6 separate regions of the Homo sapiens genome follow, and all the other regions are linked to region 3. The links are contacts of gene promoters, found by promoter capture Hi-C in blood cells and fetal thymus (Javierre and others, 2016). All regions are on one chromosome and are shown on one strand. Each heading gives the region's core, a stretch centred on a gene start or on the middle of the fragment in contact. The rest is flanking DNA. Distances are from core to core; before and after follow the strand shown. Region 1 overlaps TADA1 (transcriptional adaptor 1). Region 2 holds the start of POGK (pogo transposable element derived with KRAB domain). Region 3 holds the start of MPZL1 (myelin protein zero like 1). Region 4 holds the start of GPA33 (glycoprotein A33). Region 5 has its middle 9.7 kb from the start of TADA1. Region 6 overlaps GPA33 (glycoprotein A33).

Region 1 (2,700 bases), core at 94-2,593, 860 kb after region 3:
AGCTAGGAAAAAAATGTGATTTGAGAGGATCGATAATTTTATTTAGAGAAGTAGAAAGAGAAGGTTTTGATTTAAGCATTCATTAGTTATTTGCATTTCATGAGCATTCCATGCTTTTTACCCCAAATGAAAACAAACTTAGCAGTTATCAGTTGTCATTATTTTTACTTATGGTTATATATTTCTGTCTCCTAGATGGTGCTGGATCTTTGCCTTGGCCAGGGGGTTCCGCAGCAAAACCTGGAAAACCCAAGGGAAAGAAAAAGCTTTCTTCTGTTCGTCAGAAATTTGATGTAGGTTGTTCTTTAATAGGTCTTGATAATGACTGATTGAAGTAGTGGCATGTTGGGACTAGCTTTAGTTTTTAAATGAATATTAAAATACTGGTAGTAGAGTTGAAAAAAAGGAGTATGATTTGGGAAGAAAAGCGTTTCAAGGATTGTGAGTTCTAGGTGTCTGAATTTTTATAGTTCTTGTTTGTTACTGCTTAAATAGTAATGTTATCATTAGTACCTAATGATTTTTCAGTTATTCAAAACAATGCTTTTGTCTCTCCTGTTAAGTATTTTTCTTGAATGAATAATGTTTCTTGGATGAAGACATCTGTCTCAAGGGCTCAGGCAGCCTGGAGGCCTTTAATGGGGTCCTGGTGATGTCCAGCTGGGCCCTGAGCCTTTTGAGGACTAGTAGAGATGTCATGAAGGCATTTGGCTATAAAATTTGTAAGCATTTTAAAACAAATTGCTTTTTTCAGTGTATATTTAGGGAAAAAAACTTCCCCGAAGTAACCCTTTTATAGGTTTATGGGGTATTGATAGCTTTATTGATTAACATCAATAAACAATTATTTATTTTCACCTTGACTATATGCTTTATATCAGTAAGAATGTAGAGGCCATTGGGATCTCTAGAGAGACATGTCTGATTTAAAAAGAGATGTTCAATATAAAGTAGTTTTATACTTGGAAAATGGAAAAATAACCATGTTGTTTTCATAATATCAATTTCAAACAGGGACAAACCATCTTCACTACAAAATCTTTTATATTAGCCTTAAGCAAAAGGTACTGGGGCATAACTCCAGGTGGTGATGGAGAACATGAATGGGCTATCAGAATCTCCCTGAGGAAGGCTGAGATTTTATGAATGAAAAAGACTGAGAAAAATAGTCATGACTGTATCTTAGGTTCTGTGTTGAGAATTCTAAGTAGAAAATAACAGCAATTAAGTAGTTACTCTACATAGCATTATCTTGGAATATTTGTTACTAGATCTGCCATATTGGTTAGCTAGGCTTTTTAAGATTTAATTGAATCATTCATTATATGTTTATACTTTTAGAACCTACTTACGGTTAGATTTAAAATGCTCTGATTTGTTTGAATATAGTTCAATACTTCTCCTTCTCTTTCAGTTATTTTTAACACAGTGCCATACATTCTGTGATCACCAAGGTATTAATTGAATAGAATAAACTACTACGCAAACTACCATTATTCCCCTTAATCCATGTCTTCATTATTACCTTGTATTGGATGTGAATCTGTGATTATTTGTGCATGAATTAACTCTTTTTTCCCTTAACCCCTGTGGTATAGTTTTGGTGGCATTAATTTGGAGGATCTCAACTTCAGTACAGGAGTTTACTTTGTGTCTTGTTTGCTACTGTAATGAGTAATTTTAAAAAGTTTTTCTTACTCATAGCATAGATTCCAGCCTCAAAATCCTCTCTCAGGAGCCCAGCAATTTGTGGCAAAGGATCCCCAAGATGATGACGACTTGAAACTTTGTTCCCACACAATGATGCTTCCCACTCGAGGCCAGCTTGAAGGGAGAATGATAGTGACTGCTTATGAGCATGGGCTGGACAATGTCACCGAGGAGGCTGTTTCAGCTGTTGTCTATGCTGTGGAGGTTGGTTTGCTGTTGGCAGAAATAATCTTACAGGTTGAATGTGATAGGCTTGTGTGTTGTTTAAAGTCGGTATTGCAAGAAAAGAATCCAAATGTCACTCTGATTTCACAGAATTGTCATTGTTGAAGTTGTTTTCTGTTTTTTTTGAGACAGCATCACTTTGTCTCCCAGGCTGGAGTGCAGTGGCACGATCATGGCTCACTGCAACCTGGAAATCCTGGGCTCAAGCGATCCTCCTGCCTCAGCCTCTCAAGAGCTGGGAGTATAGACGTGCGCCACCATACTCAGCTAATTTAAAAAAAAAAAATTTTTTAGGGATGGGGGTCTCTCTCTCTTGCCTAACTGGTCTCGAATTCATGGGCTCAAGTGATCTTCCCGCCTTGGCCTCCCAAGGTGCTGGGATTTACATGTGTGAGCCATAGCACCTGGCTAAAAGTTGTTTTCTTTTAAGAGGAGAAACTCATTATAATCCAAATAGTTGTCTTCAGTTAATAGACTAAGCTTTTCAGAAAGGTTATTTATGGCATAACTCTTCTGGTTGATCTGATGTTTTGTCAACAGGGGAATGGTTTTTAAGGAAAGAAATGAAATTGAGAATCCTATAGATTAAAGTCACTTGTTTTTGCTGTGATACAGCACTGAAGAGTATTAGTCTTGGCATCTGAACAGCAGAATTCTTGTCTCTGCTCATGATTTCATTTGTCCATTCATTTTATTCATTTAGTTACTTGACAAAACTAATTTGATGGGGTCTATAATGCACGAGTATGGTCAGGTGACATTGGA
Region 2 (2,700 bases), core at 191-2,690, 880 kb after region 3:
GTGACCTCCCCAAAGCCTATGATGGGGGAGGCTGAGCCACATACAAACCTCTTTAGCCCCAAGCACTGTTCCCGCTGGAGGGAAGTAAGGAAACAAGAGTCGGCCAGGAAGCTACAGGGTGACATGTTTAATTATGATAAGAGAGGCTGTGGGTAGATAACGTATCTGGCTGCCTTCAAATATTTAAAAAGCTATCTGGGGAAGAGAACCCAGACTGGTTTGTAGAGACTGGACGGCAGAACAGAGGCCGGCCAGTGGATAAATACTCCTGGAAAAGGTTTTAAGCAGTGAGAAAGGCAGTACTTTCTCACAGCCAGTGCCACCCAAACAGGAATCAGAGGCAGGGGAAAGGTGCTGATTTCCTATCAGTGAAGGTGTCTGAACACAGATTGGACACTTACTCAACTGGAATGGGTGCTAGAAGCCAGTTAAGCATGGGCGGAGCGGTTGGCTCAGTAGGCCCATTGCCTGGATTTTCCAAATTCAAAGGTTCTGTCCACGAGCTGGTTCAGAAAATAGGGTCATTCTACCTTAAGGGACTTTGCAAACGCAGGAGTCAGTGAAACATAGTGAGGGTTATGCCTGGATACCCAAAAAGGTGCAGAAATCGGCTGGGGCCCACCCCGACAGGGAAATAACCCATTGCCTCTGGGCTGCAAATTCTCTATTCGCTGACTCTTGGCCAGTACAAAGGGCCGCACTCCTGCCCTCTATGGGCGCGGGCAATTCCTAGGTGTGGAGTGCGGATGCATCTTGAGGGCTGCATCGGGGAACCTCCAAAGAAAAGATCCCTCTGGAGTTCAAAGTCGGTTCCTTCGATATTTCCAAAAAAGATAGGCGAACGCGGCATGGATGGGTCTAGGCTTCAGATGCCTGCAGCTGGGGCCCGAACTTGGCGGCGGTCTCCCTGCCGGCTCCGGGGCAGAGGTGGGAGGGGCCGCCTCCCCGCGCTAAGGTGCCGCAACCAGGGCCGCCGCCCGCCCTGCCCCGCCTGCGCCACCGCCGCCGCGCCCCCGGGCGCGTTCGGATTTCTCCAGCCATCTTGCCCCATTTCCCTTTCTCCGCGGAACCGCGCCGGGAGCGCTTCCGCTGCCCCCTCCGCCCGGCCCGCCTCCCCACCTGGCCCCCTCCCGGCCCCAGCGCACCTGCCGGGCGGCGAGAGCCGGCGCCGCCCGCCTCCCCGGCGGGCCCGCAACAAAGGCGGCGGCGGCGGCGGCGCAGCCTCGGCGCCCCCGCCTCTGCCGCGGCCCAGCCGCCCGGGACCCGGGGGAGGGGCCGCGCCGCCGCCGCCCCCGCCCGCGCGCACTCACCGCCGGGCCCAGCGGCCAGGGCGCGGGGTGGGGACGCGAGGGCTCCGGCCCGGCTGTCACAGCGCCATCCTTTCCGCCTCTCCGTCCTCCCGTGCGCGCGGCCCCTCGGGAGGGAGCGGGGAGGACACGTGGTGGGAGGAGGGAGGGTCCGGCCCGGAGCTGAGGGTGTTGGGAGGCGAGGGGAGGAGCGCGGCTGATGTCAGCAGGCCTCGGCGGCGCCGGGGGACGGCGCCCGCGCGAGCTCCGGGGCCCTCCTCTAGGCGCGGCTTCCGGCCGGTCCGGGCAGTCCCTGGCGGGCCTGGGTAGCCGTGCCCTCGGCCTTCCCCGCCCCGCCCGATGCAGGCCGCTTCCAGTGCTGCGTGTGACCTCGGCGTGGACGAGGCAGGAAGAGCCCAGATTGATTTTAACCGAGCGTAGCGTGGGCGCACAGTTCCATGTGCTCATTTGCAGTCACCAGCGGGTTGCACTTGCTTGGACGAGCTCTCCAGGCGTTCTCGCCGTGCTTCAGGCAATGAAAGGCTAGACCGGCAAGAGCGTGTAGGGGCATGAGGAGGGGTCTTTGGGGAAGAGTATTCGTATTCTGGCAGCGGGCTCCTGTCCAGAACTTCGTCATATACATGGAGAAGGAACTTCCTGATTTTTGTAGCTGTTGCTTAATATCCCAAGCATGTAATTCCTTGGATGAAGTGGGTGTATAGAAGGACCTTTCTTCTCCAAAACGTCCAAAGGAGTTGTTTACTCTCAGCTCTGTGGGCAATACAACAAAAGTGACCTGAGAAGCCCTGAAGCCCTTTTCATTCCAGAAAAAGATTCTGGGTATGGGTTTTTGTTGAGAACTTGTTGAAGAAAAAATTATTCTGACACTTGTTAAAACAGTAAGGAAGACTTTATACAGGGTTATTGCTATAGGTGTAAAGATGATCACACTGGGGGGAGAGATGAGGTCTAACACGGAATACAGTAAGGACAGCTGGGGATGTATAGCCAAGGAGCAGAACGAAGGGGTCAGTAGATGGAAAGTTACTGATACGAGACATCAAGCACCTAGAGGGATTCTTGCTGAACCCACTTAACAGGATTCTTGCTGAAGGCAGGCTAGGGCGATCAGATATCAAGGGTGGGGGAATGAGAAATTTGATCAGATATCCAGGGTGATCAGATATCAAGGGTGGTGATTTCTCTCTAACCTAACTTAGCAGGGTTCTTGCTAAAATAGAGCTGGGCAGGCCAAAGGTTCGGGGTGAGTGGTCAGGGGACCAGGGTGGAGGCCTGCTGAAGAAGAGGACTTAAGCCTGATTAAACTTTGGTCAAGGAAAGAGTCCGTCAAACTCTTCAGATTGTCTCTGAGACCTGAATATCTGTTGGAAAAGACCTGTCTTTCCAAGTTTTT
Region 3 (2,807 bases), core at 17-2,516:
ATGCTAAATCATAACTGACATTTTGAAAACAAAGGGAATGAAAAAAATCTACGTGGTTTCTTAGCAGCTGGCCCTCTTTATAACTATTATTTAACTAAATTCGGAGACAGCAACAAGTACTTTGCTTTGAACAACAACACAGAAAAGTCCTGTGGCAGATACCACTTCAGATGTCCATAAAACAAGTCATCCAATTCCCATAAATTGAGCCCGAGGTTTACCTTAAGCTTGAGTCACAATATTTGGTAAGAAAAAGGAGCTTTTTTTTTCCTTTAGGAAAATTATGCTTTTTAATGCTCTATGTCTTGTCAAATTATGGTGGCTACGTCTGGAATTATGATGGATTTGACCAAATTCTTTTAAGCCAGGCCATCTCACTGGTATTCCAAGCTCTTTGCATTCTAACCTAGAAGTAACAATATTTTTTTATTGGCGTTTTGCAGACCACGGAAATGAGACTCTTTTATTACGGAGACTTAAAACTGAATGAGAGCATGGGAAAGGGAACTTACAACAAAACCCTGGCTTAACAGGAAACAAATCAACAAAGGCCCTACAAATGAAAAACCTGCAACTTTCCGCCACCTCCCAAAGGTGAAGAACGCCAGAACCCTAGTTCCTGAGTCAGAATCCGGGAGGGCCTAGACGATCCAGAGTCACCACGAGGAGAGGGCAGGGTGCGCCGCGAGGGCTCACCGCAGCCGCCCGCCGGGTCCGCTCCCCTGGACCGCCCCCCGGGAAGGAGCAAGGTAAAGCACTCTCCCCTCCTCCTCCGCACTCCAGGATCCAGGAAAGAGAAGAAAGAGGCTCTGCGCCTTCCCGGCCAGTCGCGGAGGCCCGCGTTCCCCATGGGCTGGGTCCCCTCGGCCCCAGAGAGCGCAGGCCGCGCCCCCTCCCCACCTCGGCTCTCAGTGCGCGCGCCTGGCCTGCGACCGCCGCGATGGGCGTGTGTCGGGCCCGGGGGCCCCACTCCCCGGCCCCAGCCCTGGTCCTGGCATCACTTACAGAGCCCAAGCGCCGCCGCCAGCACCGACCACAGCCAGCGCCGGCTGTCTGGGGCTGCAATCACCGCCCCGGCTCCGGCGGACGCTGCCATCGTCCAGCCACTGCAGTCGCCGCCGCCGCCGCCGCGTCCCTGAGCCCGGGTCCCCGCTGAGGTTGGCTCGGCTTGGGGAAGAGGCTTCTGATCTCTCCGCCACCCGCGCCGGGTGGCACCTCCACGCCGCGCTCCCCACTCCGGTCCCAGCCGCGGCTCTCCAGCTCTGCACCGAAGCCTCAGCCCCACTCCGGCCCTCGCTGTCCGCTCATTGGCCTGCCCGCACCCTTTTAAGGACGCGATTGGAGAGTCAGGCTGTCCATCATCCGTCCGCCGGGAAGGCCCCGCCTCCTCGGTCCCACCCAGGCGCCTCGGCCCCGCGCGGAGGCCGGGTCTGCAGCGGTCCCAGGCCGAGCCGAGCCTTCCGCCTGCCTGCGTGGCTGTCCGCCTGCGGGCCCCACCAGCCAGCGTCTCCTCTGCCTTTCTCAGGGTCCAGTCCCGTGGTCCTCTTCATTGTCTCTCCTCGCCACAGGTCTTTGCTGGGTACTAACCTCGCCTCCGTTTCAGCTCTTCTTGTTCTCTGCCGGCCTCACCTAACGAAAAAGAAGCAATTCATTTACCTTAAAAAGAAAGAAAAGACAGAAAGAAAAATAATGAGGCGTTCAATTGATGGGGGAGAGACTTCTGATTCAGTCGTCCAGGTGGAACACGTTCCCCGTGCCGTGTCCCCAAGGCCTGTCCTTTGCGTGGACTAGATAATGTATGTGTTGCAATTTGCGAAATCTACTAGTTTAAAAAGAAGTCTCCATCTTGCCCTAACCTCCTCTTAGGAACCTCCCTCCTGGCTTCAGAAGGATGGGAATCTGGAACTCTTTCCTACTACCTGAAAAACAAATGAAAATGCTTTTTGATTGTTTTGCTTTCGCATATCTGTGTTCCTGTCTGTGTCCGTGAAAAATAGAAAGCAGAAGTTCCCAACACTGATTCTGAAGTGCCCTGCAGAAGTTCCCGACACTGATTGCTGGCCCTGCTCAACTTGGTTGCCTTGGCCCAGAACAGTCTGCCACCTACGGGTTGTCCAATCAATAGGGGAAATATTTGGAAGGATCCTTATGAAAATGGCTTACAAAAGGGAAAAATGGGGGACAGGGGCACAAGAAAGATGAGTGTGAAGGAGGAAAAGGGAAGATTCAGGTGGGAGGCTGATACGATGAGGAAGGGAAGCAAGCTTTAGACAATTAGGACAAGAGCGGGGGAAGAGTATGGTGAGAACCCAAAATGTAACCTCTCACTTCAGGGTTTTTGTCTAAGGTCAGTCTTAACAATGCCATTCCTGATATCTGTGCTGTTTCAGCTAACATTGCAGTACAGCGAAATCATAAGAACATTAGTGAGAAAAAAACTTAAAAAAAAAAAATACCAGAACCACTTTGCCCTATTTCTGTCAGCAGATCCTTTTGAAGTTGTATCTCAAATGCCATAGGTTGGAAAAGATACCAATGCATTAATTGAACCATGGATGTAGAACACCTGGGCTTTACTCTCAAGAAGCACATCGTCTACTAGTGTACACAAACAAGTACTCAATTACATTTGTAAAAATGAGGGCCGGGTGCGGTGGCTCACACTTGTAATCCCAGCACTTCGGGAGGCCGAGGCGGGCAGATCACGAGGTCAGGAGTTTGAGACCAGCCTGGCCAGCGTAGTGAAACCCCATCTCTACTAAAAGATACAAAAAAATTAGCCGGGCATGGGTGGCGCGTGACTGTAC
Region 4 (2,700 bases), core at 12-2,511, 630 kb after region 3:
TGAGCCACCGCGCCTGGCCAAATTTCACTAATAATTTTAAAAAGTAAATTATATATACATGGGATATCATGTTCACTTAGATTGGCGATGAGCAGAAAGTTTGATAACTGTGTCATAAACACTTGGTAACTGTGTTAGTGAGTGTGTGGGGAGATAGGTATCCTTATATGCTGCTAATAGGAGTGTAGGCTGTAAAATTCTCATGGTAGCTAGTTTAGCAATATCTATAAAAATTACAAATATGCATAACTTTCAGTGAGTCAGAAATTTTACTTTTAAGAATTTATCTTACATGTATAATCACAACACGTGTGAAATATCGTACACATAATAGATATTGGTTGCAATCTTTTCATAGTTGTGAAAGATGAGGAAAAACAATCTTAAAAGTAGTTTGGTTAAATAAATCATGTCACTCATATACAGTGAAATATCATCCCCATTTTAAAAAGATGATGGTGGTGGTGCTATACATACCGATACAGAAAGCTTTCTAAAACCTTTCATTAAATGAAAAATGAATAAATCATTGCAGAACAGTGTATATATATCTAAAATATCTATGGAAGAAACCAGCAACAGCCACTGCTCCTGGAGAATTATGGTCCCACACCACTGATCATTCTTTCAGTAGGGTGACCATCATCCAAATTTGCTTGGGACTGAGGGGGTTCCTTTTGGTTTGAAAACCAGGACAGTCCTAGGAAAAGTGAGACAAGTTGGTCACATGTCCCCAAGATGATCTTCTTTCACTTATGAACTTGCTACTTTCCCAGTCAGAATATAAACTCTGAAGGGGGAGACTTCCTGTTTTCTTCATGACTATATCTCTTGCGCACTGTGGGGTGGAGGCTGTAGAAGAGGAGAGAAGTAGAGAAACAGATCACATTGTGTCTTGAAGTGTTTCAGCAAATATGGGCAACACCCTTCTTTTACTAGCTTGGAACCCTACCTCTGAGTGCATTTCCCTTTTTATTATTTATTTCCTGTCAGTTATAAGAGAGGCCTACCCCTTTGTGAGCAGTCTAGGACTTTGTACACTTGTTAAGTAGGGAGAAGGCAGGGGAGGTGGCTGGTTTAAGGGGAACTTGAGGGAAGTAGGGAAGACTCCTCTTGGGACCTTTGGAGTAGGTGACACATGAGCCCAGCCCCAGCTCACCTGCCAATCCAGCTGAGGAGCTCACCTGCCAATCCAGCTGAGGCTGGGCAGAGGTGGGTGAGAAGAGGGAAAATTGCAGGGACCTCCAGTTGGGCCAGGCCAGAAGCTGCTGTAGCTTTAACCAGACAGCTCAGACCTGTCTGGAGGCTGCCAGTGACAGGTTAGGTTTAGGGCAGAGAAGAAGCAAGACCATGGTGGGGAAGATGTGGCCTGTGTTGTGGACACTCTGTGCAGGTGAGTAGGCCCCTTTTCTCTCCAGTGCCCAGGGGTGGGTGAGACATGGGGACCTAGGGCTGAAGGAGAGGCTCTGTCAGAGCCTTCCCAGGAAGGGCCTCCAGCAACACAGCTGCGTTCCTGCTGGGCCAGAATTACACATTCCGGACCAGTGCCCAGAATCAGAATGGTTTTTATTTACATATTAGTAAATAACATTCTAGCCCACTGCTGAAATGAAGAATTCAAAGTACTCTCAAGACCATATTTTCTTATCCCAAATTAGATTATAGGATCAGACACAGGATTTGACAATGTGGACAAAGTATTTGAAATCGGAGTTGTCCTAGAAAATCCAGGATGTGTGGATCTAGATATGTTCATTATCTAGTATATTAACGTTTGTGTTAAAACCAGAGAAAGAGACAGGAAACTGAGGCAGAAGAGACAATGCAACTTATCCCGTATCATTCACAGAGCAAGAGAAGATTCAAACCCTAAAAACAAACAACAAACTAGATGGGTCTTTTCCAAAGGCCAAAGCTCCTTGCCACTTCTGGGACCCTGGTCATTGAAAATTCTGGGACTCTGAGCATTTCCCTCTGGGAGGGAAACCTCCCAGAACAAAATCAGACATTCATGAGTATATGGTTGAATCCACATCAAGTGCTTAATAGCACAGTGTTCTGTGGGGACCTATGGAGTGTCTAAGGGTTAGAATGAAAGTCTTGGCATTAAGGTACCAACCATTTTGCTGGGCATTGGAAGGAAATAGAATGGAGAGAAGGAAGTTGAGAGACGCAGGGTTTGGCAAAGTTTAGGAATATCTTTGGTTTAGTGTATTTGGCCATCACCTTGCAATTCAGACACTGTTGAGGGCTTCCAGGATCCAGCTGCAACGGGGAGGAGAAGAGCTATACCAGGAAACTCAGGAGCACCAAGCCTGGGGAAGTGGAAACCAGGAGACTGGTTTAGAGCTCACTTTTTAGCATACACAGGAAAGCCCCGGGCCACGGGGCCTACAGCTCATTCTGGTTCTCCCAGGCCCTAGACATGCTTTTCTCTCAACACCTGGCCTTGGGGCTCTCGAGGGAAGGGCAGCCTGCTGCTGGGGAAGGGCTGGATCACACGGTTTGGAGGAAGATCTGGGTAAGATCATTCTCTCAGGCTGGCTCAAGTTCATCTGACTGAAGGCAGAAAGCCCCTCATCATCCACCAAGATGGACTGGTTGGCTCATTCCTTTATCCAAACAACTCTTTACTGAGCACATAGTTTGTGCAGGTGCCATAGAAGTGAGGAGTCTGGAATGATTAGTCATAAGTGGGCC
Region 5 (2,700 bases), core at 145-2,644, 840 kb after region 3:
TGTGGTAGGTGTCCTGCATCTATCAGCCTGTCACATAGGTGCCCTATTGCTTATTAAATAAGGTTTAGGGGGAAAACTATGAGGAATGGTTGCGCATTAGAATCTCTGGAGGGCTTTGAAAAATAGTGATACCTGGATTCCATTCCCCAGACATTCTAGTTTAATCGTTCTGGGGAACGGCCAGAGCATGGAATTTCTAAAAATTCTCCCAAGTGATTCTAACACCGAAGTTGAGAACCATTGCTCTTATGAAAGCTATTGTAGGGTGAATTAAGTAGAAATAATCTGTTCAAGCAAGCAAATTCCAGTAATCTCCTTTGGTTATATCTGGCTCCAGAAATGATGGGCAGACACTGCATGTTTTCTGTAGTCCCCCTTGGGCTCTCCATAGCAACCAGATGGAATGGATTCCATTGCCCTGGCCTGGTTGGTTCCACAGTATCCCCTACCTAACATGGAAATTGTTGGAATAGACTAGACATTAATTTGTGTGGACATGTTAAGTGTTTCATAAATGTCTCCTAACATCATTATTATCTGTTGAGAAGCTGGCTCTGCTTGGCATTAGAACATACACAGACAGTTCCTTCTTTCCATTGTCCTCTTTTCTGCATATAGTGGAAAAGGTTGAGGCTCCTATTATTGGCATTCTGCAAAAACCTGCCATGCAGGCCTAAAGCAATACAAGTACTTTGAGGTTTGAGGCTACCCAGGAGTCCGTTATATCTAGCAGTGACCGCCATTACTATTTTGTATTGGGTAGTCATCCCTCAGGTTGAAATCACTGCCATGGAAGCAGCCAAATTTCATGACCCTGGTTTACACCAGCTGTCACCCTCTTCACAGGCAAATGGAACATCACAGGCTTCCAACAGATTCTAATAATGCAGAAGTAGCAAAGGGCACACTTCTGGAATTTTTTGTTTGAAGTTGCAAGCCCCGCAAATCCTACTAGGAAACAGAGCAAAGCCAGCTGGGTTAGGATCTACCATAAAGGTACAGTTCCACAAAGTCCATTTTAAATAACATATGGAAATTGCAGTAGTCCTAGTTTCATGTGGGTGAGACCTGCCTCATCTTCTTGAACTGGGGTCAACCATTCAGATACTATTTTCTAGGTTTGTACTCTACAAAACAATTGGTAACTTGGGGAAAGCAATAAACTCAGGTGTCATATATTTGTAATTAAAAAAGACAGGACTGGGTACAGTGGCTTACACCTGTAATCCCAGCGCTTTAGGAGGCTGAGATTGGCCAACTGCTTGAGCCTAGCAGTTCAAGACTACCCTGGGCAACACAGAAAGTCCCCTCATCTCTACAAAAGAAAAAAAAAGAACTGGGCATGGTGGTACACACCTGTAGTCCCAGCGGCTTGGGAGGCTGAGGTGAGAGGATCACTTGAGCCCAGGAGATCGAGGGCTGCAGTGAGCCATGATTGTGCCATTGTACTCCAGGCTGGGCAACAGAGCAAGATCCTGTCTCCAAAAAAAAAATCCATCTCTATAAAAAATAAAATTAACCAGGTGACAGATCAAGAGGAGAAGGAGGAGGAGGGGAAGGAGGGAGAGGAAGAAAAAGAAAACAAAAAAGATTATTCTGCCTAAATCTCTTACCTATCTGATGTGCATCTAGTGAGGACAGTGCAGCCTGTAGAGGGGGAGTCTCTCAAAATGTGGGTGCAGGGCATGCGTGAGCTCCATCCCCACAGTGTGCAGAAATCATGGAGCTGCAGGGAGGTGTAGTAGAATGTGGATGGTTGAAAGGATGGCATCAGCTACATTGGTTGGAGGGCATCAGGGAGTTTTCAGACCATTCCAGCTTGTCTCAGATGAAATCTTTAGGAAGAAATGGACAGGGGCACTCACACTAGAGTAAGCAGTAGAACATGGTAGCTAGAGTATGAGTTCTGGAATGGGGCTTACTGGGCTTATGTCCAGTTCTACTAGATGTGTAACTGTGGGCAATTTTCTTAACTCTCTATGATTTAGTTTATCTCCCTGTAAAATGGGAGTAACAATAGTAGTACCTACCTTGTGGGGGGTTGTGGCAAGGATTTTAAATCATCGCCAAAAAACATATTCAGTACAATGCTTGGCAGATATTAAGTGCTCACTGGAGTTAACATATTTTTGTGGTTATTGTGGCAAAATGGACTCTGGTGTCAGTGAGATCTAGGTTCCAGTCTTAACTCTGCCACTTCCTGTGTAACCTAGAGCAACTGAACTTTCCTGAGTCTCAGTTCCCTCACTTATGGCCTGGGGATAGCAGCAATTCAAACCTCACTGGATTATGGTTTGGGCTAAAGGAGGTAATGTAGTAGACCCACTTCGTAGCAGGGAGTTCGTACATATCAGCTGTTGTTATTTCCTAGAGCCTGATGAGAAAGAGCTCACAATGGGTTGCACTCTACTCTCTTCCTCACTCAGGACCCAAGGTGGGTGGTAGGGTGGGGGAGAGGGTAAACTCTACAGGTGGCCTCTGTATGCCCTGCCTTTACACTCAACTGCTGTCAGGCCCCTTTGGTCCGCAGCTCCCAGGTTGTCCCCAAATGTGACAATTCGTCAATTTCTTCCTGTAGGTAACAACCCTGCCTGTAATATGTCAATGATTTTGAGTCTATCCCTGCCGTTATTGGAGGGTCTGAAAGTGGCACCTTTGGACAACCAAGATATTTTATGAGTCCAAGGGGTAGGACTTCCC
Region 6 (2,793 bases), core at 108-2,607, 660 kb after region 3:
CCAAACAAAATTTTTAAAAAATTAGCTGGGCATGGCAGGACTCACCCTTTAGTCCCAGCTACTCAGAAGGCTGAGGTGGGAGGATTGCTTAAGCTCTGGAGGTCGAGGCTGCAGTGAGCCATGATCACACCACTGCACTCCAGCCTTGGTGACAGAGCGAGACCCTGCCTCAAATAAAATAAAATAAAATAAAGTAAAATAAAATAAAATAAAGTAAAATAAAATAAAATAAATAAAATATTTTTTAAAAAGAAAGACAAGGCCTGAAAGGTGTCCATCCGATTTAGCTTCTGGGAGGTCTTTCAGTTCAGTGTAGGTGGAAAAGGAGGCCAGAGGTGGAAAGCAAAGCCAGCAGGGCACACAGCTCTTCTGAGAAGATGAGGTGCCCCGGGGGTGGGGATGAGGACCCGGGGGAAGAATATCTGGTGTCCTGGATAAGCCCAGCCGGACGGATGCACACATTGGGGGTGCACTCAATCCAGGAAGAGCTTTATCACTCGTTTGGGGGCAAATCGACTTCTTAAAAAAGTTAGTAGACACTTTGGGAGGCTGAGGCAGGCGGATCACGAGGTCAGGAGATCGAGACCATCCTGGCTAACACGGTGAAACCCCGTCTCTACTAAAAATACAAAAAATTAGCCGGACGTGGTGGCGGACGCCTGTAGTCCCAGCTACTCCGGAGGCTGAGGTAGGAGAATGGCGTGAACCTGGGAGGCGGAGCTTGCAGTGAGCCGAGATCGCGCCACCGCACTCCAGCCTGCAGCCTGGGCAACAGAGCGAGACTCCGTCTCAAAAAAAAAAAAAAAAAAAAAAAAAAACAGTTAGTAGAATCCACTCGACCTAACTTAAAATAGGTCAATGTAATGTAGGTTTTCAACAAGCTTCCAGTTGTGTTTACGTATTTCTGGTTGGCAACTTTTTATCGAGTGTGTCTGGAATTTTTGTTGAAACCACCTGGCAGCTCCCCGGGGGCTCTGTGGCCTCCTCTCTCTGGCCTATGAATAGTCTAGTGACTCCAGCCATGGTCATGGTAGGTGTGCTGTGGACACTGGTAGTGTCTGATCTTCTTTCCTGCAAAGTGTGTATATGGAGACCCAAAGCTGAAGGTTACAGGTGGCAGATGCTATAATAGCTTTATACCCAGTGGTGATGTAACACAGAAGATGCATAAGAAGATCAAAGAAGGTTTCTCCAAGGAGTGGGTATTGGAGTCGACAGTGGTTAAGAGCATGCCATGGGCTTGACTCCTGGCTCGGACACTTGTTAGCTGTATGACCTTGGCAAGTGACTCAGCTTCTTTGTGCCTTAGGTTCTATGTCTATGAAATGGGTACAATGCTAGTGTTTACTTCATAGGGTTGTGAAGATTAAATAAAAGTAGATGTGAAGCATTGAGACTAGTGCCTGGTAGGCAGTAAGCACTCATTTAATGCTAAGTGTTATTAGCTGTTATTTGAGTTGGGTCCTCAAGGATGAGGAGGCTTGGCATGGAGAACAGGAAGGAATCATGACTGTCTGGTGTGGCTAAGGGGTAGGGTGCGTGTGTAGGTGTAGGAATGGTGGGAGATACTCTTGTTAAGAAACACAGTGATGAGAAATCATGAAGAGCCTGTGCGTTACGCTAGGGAGGTTCGTCTTTGCCCTGTAAGCCACGGGTACCTTCTGAGGAGCCTCACAAAGGGGCAGCCCAGCTGCAGTTCTCTCCTGCCTCCACAGGGAGACTCTTCTGGTTGTTAGAAGCCAAAACTTAGTTCTTTCATTATCCAAAAGGGAGAATCCTGAGGACAGGAAAGGAGGTGAAAAGAGAATTGCTTCTTTAATTTGTGAAAGCTTTAATTTGTGAAAGCTTTATCCTGTCTCTAGTTAAGATTTGCTGAGTCAGAATGGGGACCTGCAGGTGACAGAAAAGAATATGGTTAATGTCCATAACAACATGCCCTGGCATCTGGAGACATTGCGGGGTGAGGGCAGAGTTCTCAAAGCCTTCGTTTCCACTCTGCTTTGCAGAGCCTTGGAGAATCTGCCAATTCTGGCCAGGTGCAGTGTGGCTCATGCCTGTAATCCCAGCACTTTGAGAAGCTGAGGCGGGTGGATCGCTTGAGTACAGGAGTTCGAGACCCACCTGGGCAACATGGTGAAACCCTGTCTCTACCAAAAATACAAAAATTAGCCTGGCATGGTGGTGTGTGCCTGTAGTCCCAGCTACTTGGGAGGCTGAGGTGGGAAGATCCTTGGGCCTGGAAGGCAGAGGTTGCAGTGAGCCAAGATGGTGCCACTGCAGCCTGGGCACTAGAGCCAGATCTTATCTTAAAAACACAAAACAAACAAACAAAAAATAAATAGAGAGAATCTGCTAATTCTTCTTCCTCTGTGGGTCAGCCCAAATTATTTCTGGCTTTTAAAACATTTCAGTCCACCATGGACGATTTGGAGAGGAGGGTACCTCTGCTCTCCTACATCTGAAGACAATTTCCAACATTAGAGATTCATTCCTTTGACTAAACCCTCAGTGGAAACAAGCTAGCAGTGAAAAGAACAGGGAATCCAGAATCAGGAAACAAGAAGTCCTGACTTCTCCACTTTGGAGCTGTGAGTCACTCACAGCCTCTCGGACCCTTAGTACTGCCCTTTGAAAAAAACTGGGATTCCCCAAAAGCTGTGAAGAGGATGAGAGGAGATCCCATGTGTAATAGCTCTGAACAGACTTTGTAAGCTGTGTCCCAGGAAGCTGAGTTTCATGCACTGAAGAAACAGGAATTTGGATATCAAGGAAGTGGGGGAGGGGGTAGTTCTG

Evidence for each region. Contacts are between HindIII fragments. The CHiCAGO score rates a contact against its expected background, and 5 or more counts as called.
Region 1: a contact is called between a fragment that was not itself captured here and the fragment with the promoter of MPZL1 in region 3, in 1 of 17 cell types (activated CD4 T cells). The highest score is 5.3, in activated CD4 T cells.
Region 2: a contact is called between the fragment with the promoter of POGK here and the fragment with the promoter of MPZL1 in region 3, in 10 of 17 cell types (total CD4 T cells, non-activated CD4 T cells, fetal thymus and 7 more). The highest score is 17.5, in total CD4 T cells.
Region 4: a contact is called between the fragment with the promoter of GPA33 here and the fragment with the promoter of MPZL1 in region 3, in 2 of 17 cell types (total CD8 T cells and naive CD4 T cells). The highest score is 5.2, in total CD8 T cells.
Region 5: a contact is called between a fragment that was not itself captured here and the fragment with the promoter of MPZL1 in region 3, in 1 of 17 cell types (fetal thymus). The highest score is 6.1, in fetal thymus.
Region 6: a fragment that was not itself captured here is called in contact with the fragment with the promoter of MPZL1 in region 3 in 2 of 17 cell types (fetal thymus and neutrophils); the score reaches 5.9 in fetal thymus.

Annotation. Positions count from the first base shown.
Region 1 is chr1:166,861,417-166,864,116 of GRCh38, reverse strand. TADA1 (transcriptional adaptor 1) reads left to right here. Exons shown (of 8, transcript NM_053053.4): 4 at 196-293; 5 at 1,705-1,914. Among named protein-coding and RNA genes, the nearest start is that of TADA1, 13 kb to the left of the region's middle. The HindIII fragment of the contact is 2,149 bases long and covers 269-2,417 here.
Region 2 is chr1:166,838,215-166,840,914 of GRCh38, reverse strand. It overlaps POGK (pogo transposable element derived with KRAB domain), which reads right to left and starts at 1,440. Exons shown (of 6, transcript NM_017542.5): 1 at 1,311-1,440. RefSeq lists silencers at 915-1,154, 1,255-1,684. The HindIII fragment of the contact is 10,121 bases long and covers 1-2,700 here.
Region 3 is chr1:167,720,441-167,723,247 of GRCh38, reverse strand. It overlaps MPZL1 (myelin protein zero like 1), which reads right to left and starts at 1,266. Exons shown (of 6, transcript NM_003953.6): 1 at 1,006-1,266. The coding sequence starts at 1,096. RefSeq lists silencers at 627-766, 797-866, 1,257-1,626 and an enhancer at 438-938. The HindIII fragment of the contact is 2,037 bases long and covers 230-2,266 here.
Region 4 is chr1:167,088,938-167,091,637 of GRCh38, reverse strand. GPA33 (glycoprotein A33) reads left to right here and starts at 1,261. Exons shown (of 7, transcript NM_005814.3): 1 at 1,261-1,393. The coding sequence starts at 1,351. It overlaps LOC124904451 (a long non-coding RNA gene), which reads right to left. Exons shown (of 3, transcript XR_007066717.1): 2 at 2,227-2,315; 3 at 257-852. RefSeq lists an enhancer at 1,086-1,235. The HindIII fragment of the contact is 4,295 bases long and covers 492-2,700 here.
Region 5 is chr1:166,884,651-166,887,350 of GRCh38, reverse strand. No RefSeq gene overlaps it. Among named protein-coding and RNA genes, the nearest start is that of TADA1, 9.7 kb to the right of the region's middle. RefSeq lists an enhancer at 2,636-2,700. The HindIII fragment of the contact is 5,404 bases long and covers 1-2,700 here.
Region 6 is chr1:167,059,612-167,062,404 of GRCh38, reverse strand. All of the region lies in intron 4 of GPA33 (glycoprotein A33), which reads left to right. It overlaps GPA33-AS1 (GPA33 antisense RNA 1), which reads right to left. Exons shown (of 6, transcript XR_922249.3): 3 at 1,659-1,777. Among named protein-coding and RNA genes, the nearest start is that of GPA33-AS1, 8.3 kb to the right of the region's middle. The HindIII fragment of the contact is 948 bases long and covers 884-1,831 here.